2 separate regions of the Homo sapiens genome follow, and region 2 is linked to region 1. Evidence: promoter capture Hi-C in human tissues and cell types (Jung and others, 2019). All regions are on one chromosome and are shown on one strand. Each heading gives the region's core, a stretch centred on a gene start or on the middle of the fragment in contact. The rest is flanking DNA. Distances are from core to core; before and after follow the strand shown.

What was found. Contacts are between HindIII fragments. The study calls those that stand out against the background at their distance.
Region 2: a fragment that was not itself captured here is called in contact with the fragment with the promoter of FOXA2 in region 1 in 1 of the 25 tissues and cell types used here (thymus).

Annotation. Positions count from the first base shown.
Region 1 is chr20:22,579,692-22,585,843 of GRCh38, reverse strand. FOXA2 (forkhead box A2) reads left to right here and starts at 1,272. Exons shown (of 2, transcript NM_021784.5): 1 at 1,272-1,652; 2 at 2,690-4,846. The coding sequence starts at 1,566. The coding sequence ends at 3,994. RefSeq lists enhancers at 487-1,242, 2,667-3,239, 3,240-3,811, 5,488-6,152. The HindIII fragment of the contact is 10,630 bases long and covers 1-6,152 here.
Region 2 is chr20:22,310,834-22,317,034 of GRCh38, reverse strand. No RefSeq gene overlaps it. Among named protein-coding and RNA genes, the nearest start is that of LINC01427, 31 kb to the right of the region's middle. The HindIII fragment of the contact is 7,948 bases long and covers 789-6,201 here.

The DNA.
Region 1 (6,152 bases), core at 23-2,522:
TCAGAACCAAGAAAGAGCCTCCACATCCAAACACCTGCAATATCCCCCCACTCCAAATCTGGGCTCACAGGCTAACCCAGAACAGAAGACAATTTTTGAACCCAAGAGCTGCTGGGGAAATAAAAGTATACGATTGCTGGAGTTTCTAATTTCTATTAAGCAGTCCCTCTGGAAGACAGAGAGGACAGAGACGCTCTTGAAGTCAACTCCATATGCCCCATCATTGATTCCTGGATTCTTCTCTCCTCACCCCTCCCTCCCCACCTCCTGCCCTGTTTGTTTTAGTTACGAAATGCTGTGGGCACCTCGGTTGTGACTGAAAAGTAACCTTGAAACACGCCGGCCTGAATATCAGAGACAAATCTCAGCCTCCCAACCGTCGGCCGCTGCTAGAGGGGCTGCTTGCGCCAGGCGCCGGCCGCCCCACTGCGGGTCCCTGGCGGCCGGTGTCTGAGGAGTCGGAGAGCCGAGGCGGCCAGACCGTGCGCCCCGCGCTTCTCCCGAGGCCGTTCCGGGTCTGAACTGTAACAGGGAGGGGCCTCGCAGGAGCAGCAGCGGGCGAGTTAAAGGTGTGTACGTAGTTTTTCTAAATAGGACAGCGCTTTGCAAATTGGCTGTCATGGACTTGCTGTTTTGACAGAGAATGAGCACTGAGAGCGAAGAAACCCGGCATAAATAAATCCGGCTTTCATAGGGATCTGCCGGGCACTGAGGCTGGACGCGCCCTCCGACAGGCGCACCGGGCGCCCGGCGCGATGAGACGGGGCGGGGGCTGGAGGCCGGAGCCGCCCCAGAGGGTGGTTTCCTCCCAGGTCCCTCCTTCCTCAGGGGACTCGCTGTGGACCCGGGAGGAAAGGGGGCTCGACCAGGGATCCCGCGTGCCCGATCGCCCGCCCAGCCCGCTCCCCTGGCCCGCCCAGGAGTGCGGGGCGCCGCGGCGGTGGGGCGGACGGCAGGCGCTGAGGGGCAGGTGCGGAGCGCCGGCTGCGGCTACCTCTCACCTAGGTGTGAGCTGATTATTCAAATGGGCTGCCCCGGGTCTGGGGATTGGAGGCCCGCGCCAGCGCGCCGCGCTATATCACCAGCCTCCCACGTCACTGCGGCACTTGTCCGCTCCGCGGTCCACACCTCCTCCTCCTCCTCCTCCTCCTCCTCCTCCTCCTCCTCCTCCACCACCACCACCGCCTCCTCCTCCTCCTTCCTCCTCCTCCTCCCCACCCCCCCACTAGCCCCCGCGCCGCGCGCTTCCCGCCGCCTCGGGGCAGCTCGGCACTGCCAACCTCAGCCGCCACCCGGCAGCCCGTGAGCGCGGCGGCGGCGGGTGCTCCCTACCGCGGGGCGCTGGCCTGGGCCTCCTCCGCTCCTCGCCCCCCCCCACCTCCCGCCCACTTCCAACTACCGCCTCCGGCCTGCCCAGGGAGAGAGAGGGAGTGGAGCCCAGGGAGAGGGAGCGCGAGAGAGGGAGGGAGGAGGGGACGGTGCTTTGGCTGACTTTTTTTTAAAAGAGGGTGGGGGTGGGGGGTGATTGCTGGTCGTTTGTTGTGGCTGTTAAATTTTAAACTGCCATGCACTCGGCTTCCAGTATGCTGGGAGCGGTGAAGATGGAAGGGCACGAGCCGTCCGACTGGAGCAGCTACTATGCAGAGCCCGAGGTAAGCGCTCGTCTTTTCCAGGGGGAAGTGGAGCGGCGGCGCTCGCTCCTTCCCCAACCTCAGGACCGCTTCCCTCGCTGGCACCCCCCCACCCCGCCCCACAACCCCAGCCTTTCTGGGCAGCCGCCTTTTCCGCCCTCCTTGGAATCAAATGGGTCTCTTTTTTATACGACACACTGTTAGCCTTGAGATAATATTAACTTTGTGATCAAATATTGACTTGCGGCGCCTCCAAATCCTCTTCGTGGCCGAGCCACGCACTATCCTAACAGAGTTATGTTTGGCAGCGCGCGGCTGGGGAGGGGTGGGAGGTCGGCCGGCGAGGGGGTGGGGAGCTGAGGAGGAGAAGATGGGTAGGAGTTGGGGGCTGAAGTGGAGGCAGAGTCAAAGACTAGTGGACAAAGAGAAAGAAAGTTTTTGCCTGCAAAGCTCAGCCGCGTGTGGTTCAGGTCTCGGTTCTTTCCCTATTGCCCCGTTCAGTGCCTCCAGCCGCCCCCGCACTCCGCACAGGCACTGCCTTGCAGTTTCCCTGGGACAAGGGAGGGGGTCCCTGGAGGGAGACCGGACAGAGGGGGCCCGGGACAGTCTTCGCTGGAGGCAGCCCGAGGCGCCCCGCGCGTTGTCCCGCAGGTTGCTTGCTGCGACCGGAGGTGGCGTCCGGGGACTTCGGGCCTCGGCGCCAGCTCAGTATGCTGGTGGGAGAGTTTGGGGAGACTCTGGGGTAGGGGAATGTATTTGGGGTGCTGGCTTGGGAGTACTCCATGGGACCCCTGTTCTAGAATCTGGGCGAGGTGGAGAAGGGCTAGGAACGGGCCACATGCCCAAGCAGCAATCCGCTCGCCACCTTCCCAAGGGCGATCGATCATGACTCTCCCTGAATGAAACAGACTCGGAGTCCGGAGACTGGGCCATCGGGGACGAAAGGGCTCCCCGGAGGCCTCCCCGGACGCGGAGGCCTGGGCGGTGGGTGGGAGGTCTGGGCACCCTCCAGCCGCGGTGCTAACGCTGTCGCCTCCCTCCCGGGGCTCTGTCCGCAGGGCTACTCCTCCGTGAGCAACATGAACGCCGGCCTGGGGATGAACGGCATGAACACGTACATGAGCATGTCGGCGGCCGCCATGGGCAGCGGCTCGGGCAACATGAGCGCGGGCTCCATGAACATGTCGTCGTACGTGGGCGCTGGCATGAGCCCGTCCCTGGCGGGGATGTCCCCCGGCGCGGGCGCCATGGCGGGCATGGGCGGCTCGGCCGGGGCGGCCGGCGTGGCGGGCATGGGGCCGCACTTGAGTCCCAGCCTGAGCCCGCTCGGGGGGCAGGCGGCCGGGGCCATGGGCGGCCTGGCCCCCTACGCCAACATGAACTCCATGAGCCCCATGTACGGGCAGGCGGGCCTGAGCCGCGCCCGCGACCCCAAGACCTACAGGCGCAGCTACACGCACGCAAAGCCGCCCTACTCGTACATCTCGCTCATCACCATGGCCATCCAGCAGAGCCCCAACAAGATGCTGACGCTGAGCGAGATCTACCAGTGGATCATGGACCTCTTCCCCTTCTACCGGCAGAACCAGCAGCGCTGGCAGAACTCCATCCGCCACTCGCTCTCCTTCAACGACTGTTTCCTGAAGGTGCCCCGCTCGCCCGACAAGCCCGGCAAGGGCTCCTTCTGGACCCTGCACCCTGACTCGGGCAACATGTTCGAGAACGGCTGCTACCTGCGCCGCCAGAAGCGCTTCAAGTGCGAGAAGCAGCTGGCGCTGAAGGAGGCCGCAGGCGCCGCCGGCAGCGGCAAGAAGGCGGCCGCCGGAGCCCAGGCCTCACAGGCTCAACTCGGGGAGGCCGCCGGGCCGGCCTCCGAGACTCCGGCGGGCACCGAGTCGCCTCACTCGAGCGCCTCCCCGTGCCAGGAGCACAAGCGAGGGGGCCTGGGAGAGCTGAAGGGGACGCCGGCTGCGGCGCTGAGCCCCCCAGAGCCGGCGCCCTCTCCCGGGCAGCAGCAGCAGGCCGCGGCCCACCTGCTGGGCCCGCCCCACCACCCGGGCCTGCCGCCTGAGGCCCACCTGAAGCCGGAACACCACTACGCCTTCAACCACCCGTTCTCCATCAACAACCTCATGTCCTCGGAGCAGCAGCACCACCACAGCCACCACCACCACCAACCCCACAAAATGGACCTCAAGGCCTACGAACAGGTGATGCACTACCCCGGCTACGGTTCCCCCATGCCTGGCAGCTTGGCCATGGGCCCGGTCACGAACAAAACGGGCCTGGACGCCTCGCCCCTGGCCGCAGATACCTCCTACTACCAGGGGGTGTACTCCCGGCCCATTATGAACTCCTCTTAAGAAGACGACGGCTTCAGGCCCGGCTAACTCTGGCACCCCGGATCGAGGACAAGTGAGAGAGCAAGTGGGGGTCGAGACTTTGGGGAGACGGTGTTGCAGAGACGCAAGGGAGAAGAAATCCATAACACCCCCACCCCAACACCCCCAAGACAGCAGTCTTCTTCACCCGCTGCAGCCGTTCCGTCCCAAACAGAGGGCCACACAGATACCCCACGTTCTATATAAGGAGGAAAACGGGAAAGAATATAAAGTTAAAAAAAAGCCTCCGGTTTCCACTACTGTGTAGACTCCTGCTTCTTCAAGCACCTGCAGATTCTGATTTTTTTGTTGTTGTTGTTCTCCTCCATTGCTGTTGTTGCAGGGAAGTCTTACTTAAAAAAAAAAAAAAATTTTGTGAGTGACTCGGTGTAAAACCATGTAGTTTTAACAGAACCAGAGGGTTGTACTATTGTTTAAAAACAGGAAAAAAAATAATGTAAGGGTCTGTTGTAAATGACCAAGAAAAAGAAAAAAAAAGCATTCCCAATCTTGACACGGTGAAATCCAGGTCTCGGGTCCGATTAATTTATGGTTTCTGCGTGCTTTATTTATGGCTTATAAATGTGTATTCTGGCTGCAAGGGCCAGAGTTCCACAAATCTATATTAAAGTGTTATACCCGGTTTTATCCCTTGAATCTTTTCTTCCAGATTTTTCTTTTCTTTACTTGGCTTACAAAATATACAGGCTTGGAAATTATTTCAAGAAGGAGGGAGGGATACCCTGTCTGGTTGCAGGTTGTATTTTATTTTGGCCCAGGGAGTGTTGCTGTTTTCCCAACATTTTATTAATAAAATTTTCAGACATACCAAAATTGAATGAATTTTACAGTAGGCACACAGGGACCTGCTCCCGAGATTCTGCAATTAACATTTCATTATACTTGCTTTATCACATACTTGTCCATCTATCTTCACCTCCACTGGTCAATCCATCTTATTTCTCTAAATCCACTTCAAATTTGCAGATACCAGTACACATCCCCCTAAACACTAAAGCAAGCACATTATTAAATGGAACTTGTATGGTTTATGGTTACTTTTTGAATTTGGGGGTTAACTTTACACACAATGAAATACACAGATCCCAGGAAGACCATTCCAGCAGGTTTATTTTTAAAGCCAGTAGAAGATCACTCTCCACATATCACAATTTTCCACCTTGGCTGTTTGAATGTGCCCTGTTGTTGTGGTCTCTTGGGCCCCACAGCTTGCTTCTCTTGGGGGAAGCCTCAATTTCACATGTTTTTGCTGTACTTCTGATCTTGGGCCTCCCTTCAGGTCAATGAGCCTGGATCAAACTTGCAAATTTGTGGTGCAGCACTTTGCCTGTTCACCACTGTGAACAGTGGTGGAATTGGGACTCTGCCTGGATCTTCCAGCCTCCTCTGTACACAGGGTGCCACCCTTTCCCACCCTTCTCCCTGGAGCAGGTATTGTGCACAACCATGGCAGACCTTTCTAACCCAGAAAGACCTTACTAACCCAGAAATGGCGAGACACTTGGTGTAGGGAAACATTTAGAAGATCTTCTCCTGGAATTGGTTTGAAAGGGTAAGTCAGGGTAACAATCCAAGTCTGTTTTTTAAAAATAGGGTATATTTGGGAGTGAGGAGGAGGTAAGGGGTGTCTGGCCAATGGACCATGACAGTAGTGAAGATGCCACTGTCGGCAAATTTGCTCCCCATCTCCCTCCAAAACTCAAGGCTCTTGCAAATCTTCTTGTAAGTTAGGTGAGGTTGGCAATCCAGGTTTGCAGGGTCCAGGGGTTATGCAGGTATTTTGTGAGCCTTCAAGGACTCTAAAAGTATAACGAAAAATCCCAGAGTGAATTCTTATACACCATGCTGCCTCTCCCCCCAGACGACCTCGCTGGCCTAAAAGGACGGCCAACGGCAGTGAAAACCAAGGCCGACAGCGCAAAGGGGAGTCTGGTGTTGGTTTTGCCCAGGACATCTGCTGGCTGGGCGAGGGCAGGATCAGTGTCGTCGCGGGTCAGGCAGACTTGGGAGCCACTCCCGCGCGCAGTGGCTTGCGGTGGGTAAAAACACTCCGAAAGCCTGGAGGCTAGGACTTTTTGCCTCAGGTTTCTAAGCTCAGGCTCCTTTTTTCAAGATTAGA
Region 2 (6,201 bases), core at 3,513-6,012, 270 kb after region 1:
GTACAGAAAATAATATGCAGCCTCTTTCATCTGAGTCACTTCCCCATGCCTCCCGTTTCTTCAGACTCTAGGAGGCAGAAATGCAATCAGGTTTTATCTTCAGCACAGGCCTCTGGTACATGGTCAAGGCCCATGATGGGGTCTGGGGAGTGGAAGGAATTTAGGTTAACTCTGGCACAGAATGAAGGAGACTTCATCTCTGAAACTCTGATCTCTTAAGGTTGATTCTCTTGAGGGAAACTCAGGATGGAGCTTTGCAGAGGTCTCTCCCAGGCCTGGGGTTCCCATGCTTCCATATGGGCTTTAGGTGGGGGCATAAATCGCGCTCGTATTTGGTTAGTGTTCTGCAGGGTGAATTAACCACTTTTCTCTGACCCTAACAAATGGTCAGGCCTGGTGGACACCTTTTCCCTCTGCTATTTCCAAAGTCTTCAAATGTCTGCCCCAGCAATGCCTCCAGGGCATGCCCATGTTGACGGGGACAAGCTGAGCCAGGCAGGGGTCACTCATCCCATTTGGAGAAAACAGAATCACTCTCCCCAAAAGTTAGCAATTGGAATAGAGGGACTGCCCAGTGATTCTCAACTTGTGCTGCATAATGCAATCATCTGAGAGCTTGGAAATATTGCAGATAGCTCTACCTTCAAATTCTACTTCAAATTGTCTACTGTGGGCCTTTAGACTTTTTTTGGAGGGGTATTGTTTAAATGTTTTACTTTTAAATTATGAAATATTCTAAACACTTAGAAATACACAGATAATACATGTAGCACATATCCATGAATCTAGCACCTAGATTTAGCAATGTGGTACTTTGTTTTAGGAAAGGGAACAAGGGAAGAAAGAAGAAAAAAAGTAAGGAAGAGAGGGAGGGAGGAAAAGAGAAAGAGGAAAGAGCAGGTAGAAGAGTTAAAAACGGAAAGGAAGGAACAAAGAAAAGGAAATGACATCTCTGTCTACCATGGCTGGGCTTTGTGATCCGTGGTTTATACTCTCGATTTCATTGAATTCTCATGCAAAATGGGAACAAGTTGCTTCTTGGATGGCTCAGCACCATTTCTGTGGTCACACAGCTCTCAGGTGGCTGCAGGATTTGGAACTCAGGTGTTCCGGCCCCAGAGGCCCCTCAGTCTCCCTGCTGTTCGTGCCATGCCTTGCAGGGAGGAGGATGAGCCCTGGGAACAGGCAGGCAGATGTCTGCACCTGTCATGGTGACCACCAGCTCAAACACTTCCTGTGGGTTCTAACTGTGGCCCCCACTCCACCCAGGACCTCCAGCTACAGAAGGAAGCATGAATGGAGCTGGGAGCCATCTTGGCTGAGCTTTCAATGACTGTAACTTCAAGTTGTGGTCAAGAGCTGCTTGGTGAGATGGGGCTTTAGATGGCATTTCCTAAGGAGGCTCCTTAGATCTTCTGTAAAGTAGACTGGGGATCACCTCTCCACCACAGGTACAATCGAGTGATCCCCACTGCCCTCCAGTGTCCTCAGCCAGGACCACCGACAGGATTTTCATCTCTACCACTTTGGCTATGAAATCAGCAAAGGCCAAGGTTATCAAGGAAGAAAAATAAATATAATAAAATGCTTGGCAAAGATCCACTGGGATCTGAAAATGAGTTACAATGAAGAAACGGGGGAAGGATGTTTCCCCTAGGAGGTCACAGGGATTAAAAATGACCTGCCAGAGAACACCCATGTGAGTGGACATTCCAGAACATTATCCTTCACATGCATAATGTGTGAAGATGCAGATGCAGGCAGCCACAGACAAGGCTGCCCCTAGTTTGGTCAGAAGGACTTACTGTGCTTGGCAGTGGGGGAAATGGCTCAGCATATTCATTCTCTCACTCCCTGTCTCTCTCCCTCTCTGCCTCCCCCTCCTTTTTTTCTCTCTCCTGCCTTCTCCGCTCTATGCATTATCTTATTTTATTAAGTGATAAGCTGTTGAAAATGCTCCAGATAAATGATTTTTCTCAATTTGAACTACATTCAATACAGCAGTTTAGAGCTCAAAAACATGACTTTGATTGAAAACAGCAAATTGCAAAATGATGTGTACAGTAACATCCCACTTATGGTGTCAATACTACCAGACAATACTACCAGAGAAAGGGCTTCTGGGTGGCATTTGCTTCCATGATTTGGGTGATGGTGTCGCAAGTTTGTTCTTTGTGGAAGTGCACAGAGCTGTACACTGTGGACATGGCCCTTTTCCATATTTGTATTATACTTCAATAAAGTTACAACAAATTATAATGAATACACATGCAAAACAATGCTTGTAACATTTATGGACATGCAGTGTAGTTAAAAGCACAAGATCTTGGGGAAACTGAGATTCAGAGAGGTAGAGCAACCCCAGCTGAAGTCTGTATGCTCAGGAAGTGGTACACATGACATGCCAATCCAGGCCTGGAATATTTCAAAGATACAGCTCTTTCTGCAAAACTATGATGCCTCTACTAAGGGATCATCTTGGATCAAACCAAGGAGCTGTGAATGTCCATGAGACAGTTGGCCTATTAACTTACACCAGCTCTGTCCAGGACTAATATCTACAAAACAAAATAGAGGTGCTGTTATTTATATGTGAGCTCTATTGTCATCATCAATAAAATGTAGCTTATAGTACTTCCTCCACATCATATGCAAAGTCATTGTACAAATCTGATGAGATAATGTTGAGAGAAATATGGTGAAACTGAGAATTATAGTTGGCATACATGATACAAATCCCTAATTACTGGTTGCATTTTTATATCTGACTTTACTTCCTGAAACATACAGATAGTTTCTCTCTCCCAGCTACTGGAACCTTCATCAGTAGAGGGTACCCTGTCTCCCTCTTTCCCTGCTTTCTACCATACAGGGGTTTAACACATTCTTAACCTTTAGACTATTGTCTACTTTGATCCTCAGAGCATCCTAGGAAGGGAGGCTAAAGACAGCAGGTGGGAGAATATCCATTTCCTCTTATAGATACGGGAGATATAGAAGCTGATCTTCCATATCTATAAGATAGATCTCATCTACCAAGATCTAACTCTAAGACAGATCTTACCAAGAATCCCAGCCCCTAGCCAGACAGCCCTAGACAAGGACAGGGAGCAGAAAACATGATACTTGGGACTTCCCACCTGTACCTATTTTCTTTTTGTGCCACCTACAAGCAAAGTGACCTCAATGCTCTGTATCCATATGTTGATTCAACTCTTGCAGATTTTCTTAAGGCATATATTTCCAATGACCAAAGACATTTTCTTACATGCCATCATATTATTATGAAAATAAGAAAATTTAGCATGGATAGAATGCTATTGTTTAGTCCCAAGTCCATTTTCAAATATCATCACTTGTCCAAACAATGTCCTTTTTCCTATTTACCCCAGTCCAGGATCCAATCATACTTGGGTTAATGTCTCTTTAGGCTTTTTTGTTTTGGAACATTTCCTCAGGATCTCTTTGTGTTTCTTCACCTTGATGTCTTTGAAGAGCAGAGGCCAGTTATTTTCTAGGTTGTTACTCCCTGGATTTCTCCAGTGTCTTTCATTTTTGGCACGAAACCCACAGAAGTGATGTTGGGCCCTTCTCAGTGCATCTTTCTAGGATCCTCATGATGTCTGTTGATGGTGTTAACTTTGAGCTCAATTAATTTTTGATTCACATTGAATGAAATGACCTTGGGCAACTCCCACATTTGGAAGGCTGATTCTAGATTACCTGAGGGCTTATTTTACTTTGGGGGTTGGGAATGATGTTGGATAACGTCCTTTGGCCTCTAATATGTACTTTTAAAATATTTGCCTGTAACTGAAAAATGAAAATGAAAATTATCAGCAAACTAGATCAACTTAGTATTTCCTAACAAATTAGTCTAATAAAGGATTCAGATTGAAGGTCATGGATAAAATAGTTTTTGTTTTATATAAAGTGAGTGAATATTTAGTTTAAGCAGCAACTGTTAATCTATGAGACTCTGCCCTGACTCAAGTTAGAATACAGTACATTTGCTAAAGGGAATTTCCATGGTTGTTTTTTTTTTTGCCTTTTTCTAGTAAACTGAAATGTGTGGAAAGACCATCAGGTGGCGCACTGGTTCCAGTCGTTTTATCAGCAAATTTCCCACTGGGAAGGAAATTTGCTTGCTACTGGAAAACGCTGATTGCTCAAAAAGCCAACTCAATGAGCTTTTTGGAATCTAAAAAGAAAAATCGGTTTGAGGAAAACTTTCATACATATATTTTGAGCGGAGGTTGGATTTGTTTTCATGAGAATGTTTCCCTTTTCCTCATTTTCTGGCTCCAAGTTTAGGAAAACATTTAGGCGCATGAGTAAAAAAAGAGGAAAAAGAAAATCAGAACTAACTACTATCCTTTACACCTTTAAGTCTTAAAAATCCTTAACTCTTTTAGAGATGTTTTGCCTCTACCATTTCCTGGAGGAAAAGAAATATTCAAAGAAAAAAAAATCCTGACTCTTACTTCATGGGTGGCAACATGTGTCTGTGGTGTGTGTGTGTGTGTGTGTGTGTGTATGTGGGGGGGGGGGGATATGAGTGTGTGCGCTAGAGAATATATGGGGAGGAAGGGAAGAACAACAAACAGTTTTATAAAATCCCTTCCCATTCTCACTGAAGTTTTATGTAATTTTAAAACTTTTAACCTCTAATAGTTTCAGTTGTAGGTATGTGACATGATTTGGCTGTGTCCCCACCCAAAGCTCACCTTGAATTGTAATAATCCCCATGTTTCAAGGATGGGGCCAGGTGGAAATAATTGAGTCATAGGGGCGGTTTCCCCCATACTGTTCTCATGGTAATGAATACGTCTCACGAGATCCGACAGTTTTATAAAAGGGAGTTCTCCTGCACTATGTAAGGCGTGACTTTGCTCCTCATTCACCTTCCACTATGATTGTGAGGCCTCCCCAGCCATGTGGAACTGTGAGTCAATGAAATCTCATTCCTTTATAAATTACCCAGTCTTGGGTATGTCTTTATTAGCAGCATGAGAACAGGCTAATACAGCGTGGGAGGATCTCTAACCAAATTTTAACACATTGAAGAGGCAGACAGCTTCTTTCTCACATCTGATATGGACTGCAGGAAACTCTTTCACCTGCTGCAACCTTGTTTTTTTCCCTCTGTTTTTTGGCTTTTTGTAGACTGACATTTTAAAAATCAAGTATAAATCTATTCATGTGATTTCACTCTACTACTGAAGAGATTGACTTTTAAACTCCATTTAATGCTTGGCCAAAGTTTTAAAGTACTAGAAAATTCCAAAAGTTCATCTCCAGATTTCTCCAAATCAAGGAATAGACCAAACTGAATGGTTGCTGCATGTTGCTTGTACCCCTAATTTTTGTTAATGGTGTCATTCGAGTCTCCTAAATGAATAAATGGGTCACAAAAATTTCTGCAGTGTGTGTGTCACTGCACCTCTGGAATGGCATAGGGAAGAGACTGGAAGCAATGAAGTAGCCACCGAGTAACCCCTCTGCCAAGAACACGTGGCCAGGCAGTTCCACACAGATCCATGGATCAGTCAGCTCCACTTAATTTGCCTGTTCAGTCATTAAAGGGCAATATCTGGGGCTGTGTCTCTTTTGGAATTCTGCCCTGGCTGATAGCTTACACTTACCAGGGACACTGGGTGGCTCCCTAATTAGGAGGAAAAAAAAGACCTCAGAAATCCTTTTAAAATTTTTTGTCAATCCTCACATAATTATAATTTGTGGTTCTACTTCTTTAAATACAATAATTTTAATTTTTTAATTTTACAAATAGCAACAAAATCCTCTTACATTTGACAAATTATAGTACGCATATGTGCAAACCAAAGTATTGATTCAAACTCCAGGCACAAATGGACTTGCAGATCCCGGCAATAACTCTTTGCTTTTTCAGGAATATTGAGGACAGGGGAAAAATGGTTTTCACTTGAGCTAAGTGAAGTTCACATGTATTATTTCAAGATATGCAAGCCACAAAACTTACTGTTTGTGATGGGGTATAGACCTGCGCAAGCCTTTCTGTCGGCTTCCAAATTCCCTGTTCCACTGACACTGTGGTTCTAAAATCTGGGGACACATAAGAATGATCCAAGGAACCTGCTGAAAAAGCAAGCCTGGTAGAGTTGATTCAGGTCCAGGAAACTGCATTTTAACAAGCATTCGAAGAGATGTAGAGCACGCTTT